Linked DNA regions of Homo sapiens: region 1 is linked to region 2. The links are contacts of gene promoters, found by promoter capture Hi-C in human tissues and cell types (Jung and others, 2019). All regions are on one chromosome and are shown on one strand. Each heading gives the region's core, a stretch centred on a gene start or on the middle of the fragment in contact. The rest is flanking DNA. Distances are from core to core; before and after follow the strand shown. Region 1 overlaps MCU (mitochondrial calcium uniporter). Region 2 holds the start of SPOCK2 (SPARC (osteonectin), cwcv and kazal like domains proteoglycan 2).

What was found. Contacts are between HindIII fragments. The study calls those that stand out against the background at their distance.
Region 1: a contact is called between a fragment that was not itself captured here and the fragment with the promoter of SPOCK2 in region 2, in 1 of the 25 tissues and cell types used here (lymphoblastoid cells).

Annotation. Positions count from the first base shown.
Region 1 is chr10:72,843,382-72,846,968 of GRCh38, reverse strand. All of the region lies in intron 2 of MCU (mitochondrial calcium uniporter), which reads right to left. Among named protein-coding and RNA genes, the nearest start is that of OIT3, 49 kb to the left of the region's middle. The HindIII fragment of the contact is 5,105 bases long and covers 1-3,587 here.
Region 2 is chr10:72,086,583-72,090,135 of GRCh38, reverse strand. SPOCK2 (SPARC (osteonectin), cwcv and kazal like domains proteoglycan 2) reads left to right here and starts at 1,585. Exons shown (of 11, transcript NM_001244950.2): 1 at 1,585-1,996. The coding sequence starts at 1,808. The HindIII fragment of the contact is 11,919 bases long and covers 1-3,553 here.

The DNA of each region.
Region 1 (3,587 bases), core at 124-2,623, 760 kb before region 2:
ACTGACATCTAAAGCTCAGCTGTCTCCCTGACCACACTGGGAGGAAGTTTCCCTGGATCTAAGATCTCCTACTTTTAGGTAGATTTTGGAGGCTTTATTCCTCTCCATTTGGATTATTCCTTTCCACTCCTTCCCTTCATTGCTTCCTGGTCCCTTCCCAGTCCCTATCCTGGTTCCCTCCATCTGGACCCTAAAGGGAACAACTTTGTTAGCTCTGGCTTTGAGGGGTGGGAGGAGCCTTCCCAGGCCAGTCAAACATTTTCATTTTCAAAAAAGAAGAAAAAAAATTTTTTTAAGTTTAATTTATAAATTAGGCAAAATAAGAGATTATCAGAAAGAACTAAGAAAAAAATAGAACAATTAAAACAACATGCCAGCATCACTACTCTTGTACATGGGGGGTTAGTATTAAGTAAAATAAGGGTTACTTGACCACAACTGCTGCAGTACTACAACAGTCAATCCGGTAACTGAAACAGCTACTAAGTGACTAATGCGCGAGTAGCATATAAAGCATGGATATGCGGAACAAAGGGATGATTCACATCCCAGGTGGGACTGAGCAGGAGAGCACAAAATTTCATCACACTACTCAGAATAGCATACAATTTAAAACTTATTAATTGGGCCGCGTGCAGTGGCTCACACCTGTGATCCCAGCACTTCGGGAAGCTGATGCAGGCAGATCACTTGAGGGCAGGAGTTTGAGACCAGCCTGGCCAACATGGTGAAACCCTGTCTCTGCTGAAAATACAAATATTAGCTGGGTGTGGTGGCAGGCACCTGTAATCCCAGCTACTCGGGAGACTGAGGCAGGAGAAGTGCTTGAACCTGGGAGGCAGAGGTTGCAGTGAGCTGATATTGCACCACTGCACTCCAGCCTGTGACAGAGCAAGACTCTGTCTCAAAAAAAAAAATTGTTTATTTCTGGAATTTTCCATTTAATATTTTCAGACTGCGGTTGCCTGTGGGTAACTGAAACTATGGAAAGTGAAGCCATGGAAAAAGGGGTGGAGGGGAGACTCCTATATATAAAGGATCATGGTGTATACAAACCTCTAAAACTTGCCTTTTATGATAATCATTGCTTTGAGGTTTATCAAAGTTGGATCGTATTTCTGGAAATATTCACTTAAACTCCTATATATAAGGAAGTGGTAAATTTTAAAAAAAGAAAAAAACACTCCTATATAGAATTTCATTCTATGAATACATTGCTTAACGACAGGGATACATTCTGAGAAATGCATCATTAGGTGATTCTGTCACTGTGTGAACATCATAGATAATATTTACAAAACCTAGAAGGTATAGCCTACTACACACCTAGTAGGTATCTAGGTATTGCTCTTAGGCTACAAACCTGTATACCATGTTACTGTGCTGAATACTGTCAGCAACTGTAACACAGTGGTAAGTATTTGTATATCTAAACATTTCTGAACACAGAAAAGGTGCAGTAAAAATACAGTATTATACTCTTTTGGGACCAACATCACATATGTGGCCCATTGTTGACTGAAACATTGTTGTTATTCAGTACATGCATGACTGTATACCGTAATTTATATATCGAAAAACCAGATTTTCCCCCTATTATAAATAAAAATAAGGCTAAGAGAAAGTAGCACTACTCAATGTTTTTAGTTTCTGATGTAAATTTTTATTTCCTTTTAGAGCCTTGTGTTTCACATTTTACTCCTTAATTCATCTGGAACTTACTTATTTTTGTAATGTAGAGAAGTTGACTGTAATAGCACCATTTATTAAATAGTCTGCCCTTTCTCCTTGGCTTTACAATGCTAATCAATCACATGTCAGATTTCTATATATGCAAGCTTCCTCTAATCTGATCCAACAATCTTTCCTATACTAATACTTCATTGTTTTGATTATTATAGTTTTAGAAATACATCTTAATATGTGCTTAGGTACCACATGCCCCCTTGTTTTCCTATTCCAAATTTATCTTAGTTTTTTATATAGCTTTACTCTTTCATGTGAATTTTTAAGTAAGTTGATCAGCTCCTACTGGGGTTTTGATTAGCATTGCATTGAGTTTATAAATTCATTCTTCATATCTATTAACATGGTATAACTCTGCATTTATTCCTATCTTATGTCCTTCAATAAAGTTTATTATTCTCAATAAATGTCTTACATTTTATTTTTACTAGTTTCATGCCTAGATGCCCTCAAGTAATTTAACAATCACTTATATTCCTAAGGATAATTCCAAAAGTCTATATGCTTTTTTGTTAAATTATATGTTAGACAAAATATAAGATTGTCATTTTAATAGAATAAACTAAATATCTATCTACTTTGGTGACAATAAGGAGCTTCCTTATACATTACCGCAAAAATATCCTCAGAATATCTATATATATATATTTTTTGAGACAGAGTCGCATTCTTGTCACCCAGGCTGGAGTGCAGTGGCATGATCAGGGCTCACTGCAGCCTTGACCTCCCAGGTTTAAGAGATCCTCCTGCCTCAGCCTCCTGAGTAGCTACAACTACAGGTGTATGCCTCCATGCCCAGCTAATTTTTTGTATTTCTATTTTTTTACATTTTTTTTGAGATGGAGTCTTGCTCTGTTGCCCAGGCTGGAATGCAGTGGCACAATCGTGGCTCACTGCAACCTCTGCCTCCCGGGTTCAAGCGATTCTTCTGCCTCAGCCTCCTGAGTAACTGGAATTACAGGTGCCCACCACCACACCCAGCTAATTTTTATATTTTTAGTAGCGATAGTGTTTTGCCATGTTGGCCAGGCTGGTCTCGAACTCCTGACCTAAGGTGATCTGCCCGCCTTGGCCCCGCAAAGTACTGAGATTGCAGGCATGAGCCACCACACCCAGACTAATTTTTTGTATTTTTAGTAGAGATGGTTTTACCAAGTTGCCTAGGCTGGTCTCAATCTCCTGAACTCAGGTGATCAACCTGCCTTGGCCTCCCGAAGTGCTAGGATTACAGGTGTGAGCTGCTGCACCTGACAGAATATCTATAATTAATATGTATAAACAAAATGTGTTTGCTTCACAATAATCTCAGAAAAATATACTTAAATATGTAAAATAATTAAAATTTTCTTTAAATGTCAAGAGAAGAAAAATGACTGCTTCCACTGAGTTTAAACAAGGGGAAAAGACTGTAAGTTAAACATCAAATGCTGGCAAGGATGTGAAGCAACAGGAACTCTCATTCATTACTGTTCGGAATACAAAATAGTACAACCACTTTGGTAGACGGTTTGGTGTTTTCTTACAAAAATAAACATATTGCTACCAACCACAATTCTCTGTATTTATCCAAAGGAGCTAAAAAATGCCCATATAAAAACTTGCACACAGATGTTTGTAGTAGCTTTATTCATAACTGCCAAAACTTGGAAGCAACCAAGATGTCCTTCAGTAGGCAAGTGGACAAATTGTGGTACACCCAGATAACAGACTATTATTCAGTGCTAAAAAGAAATGAGCTATCAAGCCATAAAAAGACATAGAGAAAACTTAAATGTATCTTACTAAGTGAAAGATGTCAATCAGAAAAGGCTACATGCTGTATGATTCCTACCATAAGACAT
Region 2 (3,553 bases), core at 336-2,835:
GGAAAAGATGGCAAATTTTGATGAATCTTCAGAACTATGGGACACCGTAGCCTTCTCTTCCCAACCAGAGGAAAGACTAACTTTTTAAAAAAATGCCCATTATGCCCACTTAGTATGTAATTTTGCTTGCACTTTACAGCAGTTTTAATGATGGTATTACCATTAGTTTTAGATAGAAAATAGGTAATTGCTCAAGAATCCAGCCAGTAAGTGGGATTCTGTCCTCTAGTCTCCACGACAGCAAGCCGTGCTCTCTCACTGTACAGCGCCAGGACACACCCAGGAAGAATGCTTTATTACTGTGAGATGAAGACGTCAATGGCCAGGGCCTCACTGCAGCACCACCACTAAATCCAACAGCAAAGGAAACAAGAAAACATGGAAAGGGAGCTATTGTTTTCTGTTTTCCCAACGAGACTCCGGCCTGAGCCACTGAGGCATTCAGAGTTCCCAGATAGGCCAGATTCAGGGTGACAAGGAACCTTGTAAGCTATGTTTTTTCCTACTGATTAAGATTATGTTTTTTAAAGCATTTTAAATTTTTATTTTATTTTTAGATCACAGCAGCTAAGTCTTTTTATAAAAACACAATCTAGGGCTTGGGTCCCAAAAGTTCACTAGGTTTTGTCCCATCAGATGATGTTTCCTCTTTAATGTATTTGTAATGTAAACCTGTCCCCATTTCTGCTGTGCTCTTGGGACTGTGGCCAGCCTCCAGCCTTCCCCGCTGGTATGTCAACATTTAAATCTACAGCCAATAAGGAGGGTCGCAGTTTCAACAAAACCCGAAACACCTCAAACAAAACCAGCACCCCACCCCAGCCCCCCACTCCCCGGCTTCCCCAGTGGCTTATTCAAACTAACTTGAAGTCAAAAAACCATAAGCAAATATGCCTTTTCCAAATTTGCAGCCTCCAAGGCAGATGAAATGGTCAGACATTTGCCTTTTAGGGTTGTCCTGGGAAGAGCTGACAAAACGGGTGACAGCCCCTAAACAGCTGCCTGGGGAGGAGGACATCTGCCTCTGTTTCACCAGCCACTCAGTGCTCAGGCCTTGCCTTGCGCAACGCGGTGCCGCTGGGGAGCAATGGTTCTGAGCAGCCAGTTGTTATACGGCTTTTGTCTTAACGAAGCCACCCATTACGGTAGAGCCATAACTCGCAGGAAGCCAGCTGTCAGGGCTGTGGCGCAGGCCCCTCTGGGTGGGAGGCAAGGGGAGAAAAACAGTGTCTGGCCAAATTCCCTTTCCGACACCTGAGCCTGGCTGGCTTTGTAACCGGAGAGTTTTGTGCCCTCTCCCCCATCCCATCTTCCCCGGGGAGATCCTGGGGCCCTTCTTGCTCTCCATCCTTTGAGGGAGCTCAGGGACATTTCGGGATTCTGGATTTCTTGGTCTGCAACTCCCTGTGTGCCAGGCGGGGCTGGGCCCCGCTGCGGCTGGCTGGCGTTTGGCGCTCTCATCGAGGGAGCGCTTCGCTTTGAAATCTACCCACTCCTTTTTTTTTTTTTTTTTTAAACCAGGTATGATGATGTCAAACGTGATGCTGATGCTACAGTTACAGCCCCTGCTGGCGCAGCCTCTCTGATTCTCTCTCCCTCTCCGCGTCCAGTGCTGGGCTTTTTCAGACAAGTGCATCTCCTAACCAGGTCACATTTCAGCCGCGACCCACTCTCCGCCAGTCACCGGAGGCAGACCGCGGGAGGAGAGCTGAGGACAGCCGCGTGCGCTTCGCCAGCAGCGGGGTGGGAGGAAGGACATTAAAATACTGCAGAAGTCAAGACCCCCCCAGGTCGAACCCAGACCACGATGCGCGCCCCGGGCTGCGGGCGGCTGGTGCTGCCGCTGCTGCTCCTGGCCGCGGCAGCCCTGGCCGAAGGCGACGCCAAGGGGCTCAAGGAGGGCGAGACCCCCGGCAATTTCATGGAGGACGAGCAATGGCTGTCGTCCATCTCGCAGTACAGCGGCAAGATCAAGCACTGGAACCGCTTCCGAGACGTGAGTCCGCAGGGCTGCCAAGGCAGAGACCCGGGGTTGCGGGTTCGGGGATTGAGCTCCGGGGTCTGCGGGAGCGGCCGCCGCACGTCGCAGCCCGAGGCTCCGCAGCCTGGCCGGCTAATTACACGGAAAGTAAACAGTACTGGGGGTCACAGCCCAGCGCCCCTCCCCTGTCCCTGCGGCCCGGGCCGGCGGCCCTGGGACCCCCCAGCCCCGGGACCCCCAGCTCCACACCTGCCCGACGCTCCGGGGTCGCGCGCTCCGGGGTCTCCCCTGCGGGCCGGGAGTGGGAAGGGGTGCGGGGCCGGGGGGACCCGGACCCCGGCTGCCGCTGGACCCCGACCCGGTCCCCAGCTGCGTTGTGCGAGCCGCCCCCGGGCCTGCCCCAGCCGCTGGGATGCTGCAGGCTGCACATACGGGGCACTGCAGCACCGGCAGGTCTGGGTGGGGCCGGCAGTGAGGGTGGCATCGGCTCGCGCGGTGCCCTCTGTTCCCACCGTGGGCTTTGCGGGAGGGGGACAGCATGGGACGGGAGTGTGACCGGGGCTCTGGGTCTGGGGTCCCAGCAGCCTTCTAGGCGAGATGGTGGAAGGCGTGTCCGTACGGGGGTGGGCTGGGGTCCCCGTGCAGAAGGGCGCGCGAGGACCCAGGCTGGTTTTCCCGGACCAACATTTCAGGGGGGAATCCAGCCTGGAGCGAGGGGAGCAGCTCGGAGCCAGAGGAAGGCTCCCGGCCCGGTGGGCTTGAGAAGCCGGGGAGAGTCCAGAAGCTGGGTTTGGGGGCCCCCGGCGGGCGCCGCCCGAACCCCGGCGTAACCTTGGGCCGAACTCCGCGGGGTGGGGGCGGGGGGGTAGCTGCGGCACTTTTGTTTACCGGCACCTGTGGATCAGAGGGGAAGTCGCAGGCGGCGGCCCGGCGGGGCTGGCTCCTTCCTCTCGGCCGGGCCGGGTTGGGGGCTGGGGAAGCAGGGGTGAGGCAGGGCGGGCGGAGGGTGTGGCTGGACCCCGAGATCGTTGGGGGTGCTGTGGGGGATGGGCCCGGATGCGCCAGAGGCGACGCCGGCTGCTCCTGGCGACCTGGTGCTCACCGCGGCCCTGACCCCAGAAAACCTCTTCTAGGACCCTGGCCCTTACTCCTCCTTCCCCAGGTTCCCTCGTCCGACCCACCCAGTACAACGCAGGCCACACCATGACCTCTCCCGTTTTCTCCTTAAACTGCGTGCATCCACAAGTTCCTTGGAAATTTGTTTAAAACACACATGCTTCATAGGCTATCCAGCCAAGTGATGGGAAGAGGCAGAGATTTGGATCTTTTTGTTACCGTCAGACAAGTGACTGTTTCTCCCCAAAGTCAAACTGGCAGGTTGTAATTCACAGAGGACAGCAGGAACCACGGGCAGCCAGGTCTCCAGGCTGAGTGGCCGGGCCCCGCGATGGGCTGCTGATCTCCGCCTTCGCCCCACATGCGACCTGTCCAGCCGCAGGAGCCTGGAGCCCCGCGAGGCCTTCCCGAAGCACCTGCAGGCCCAGCGCAGATGAGCCGCAGTCTCCTGCCGCT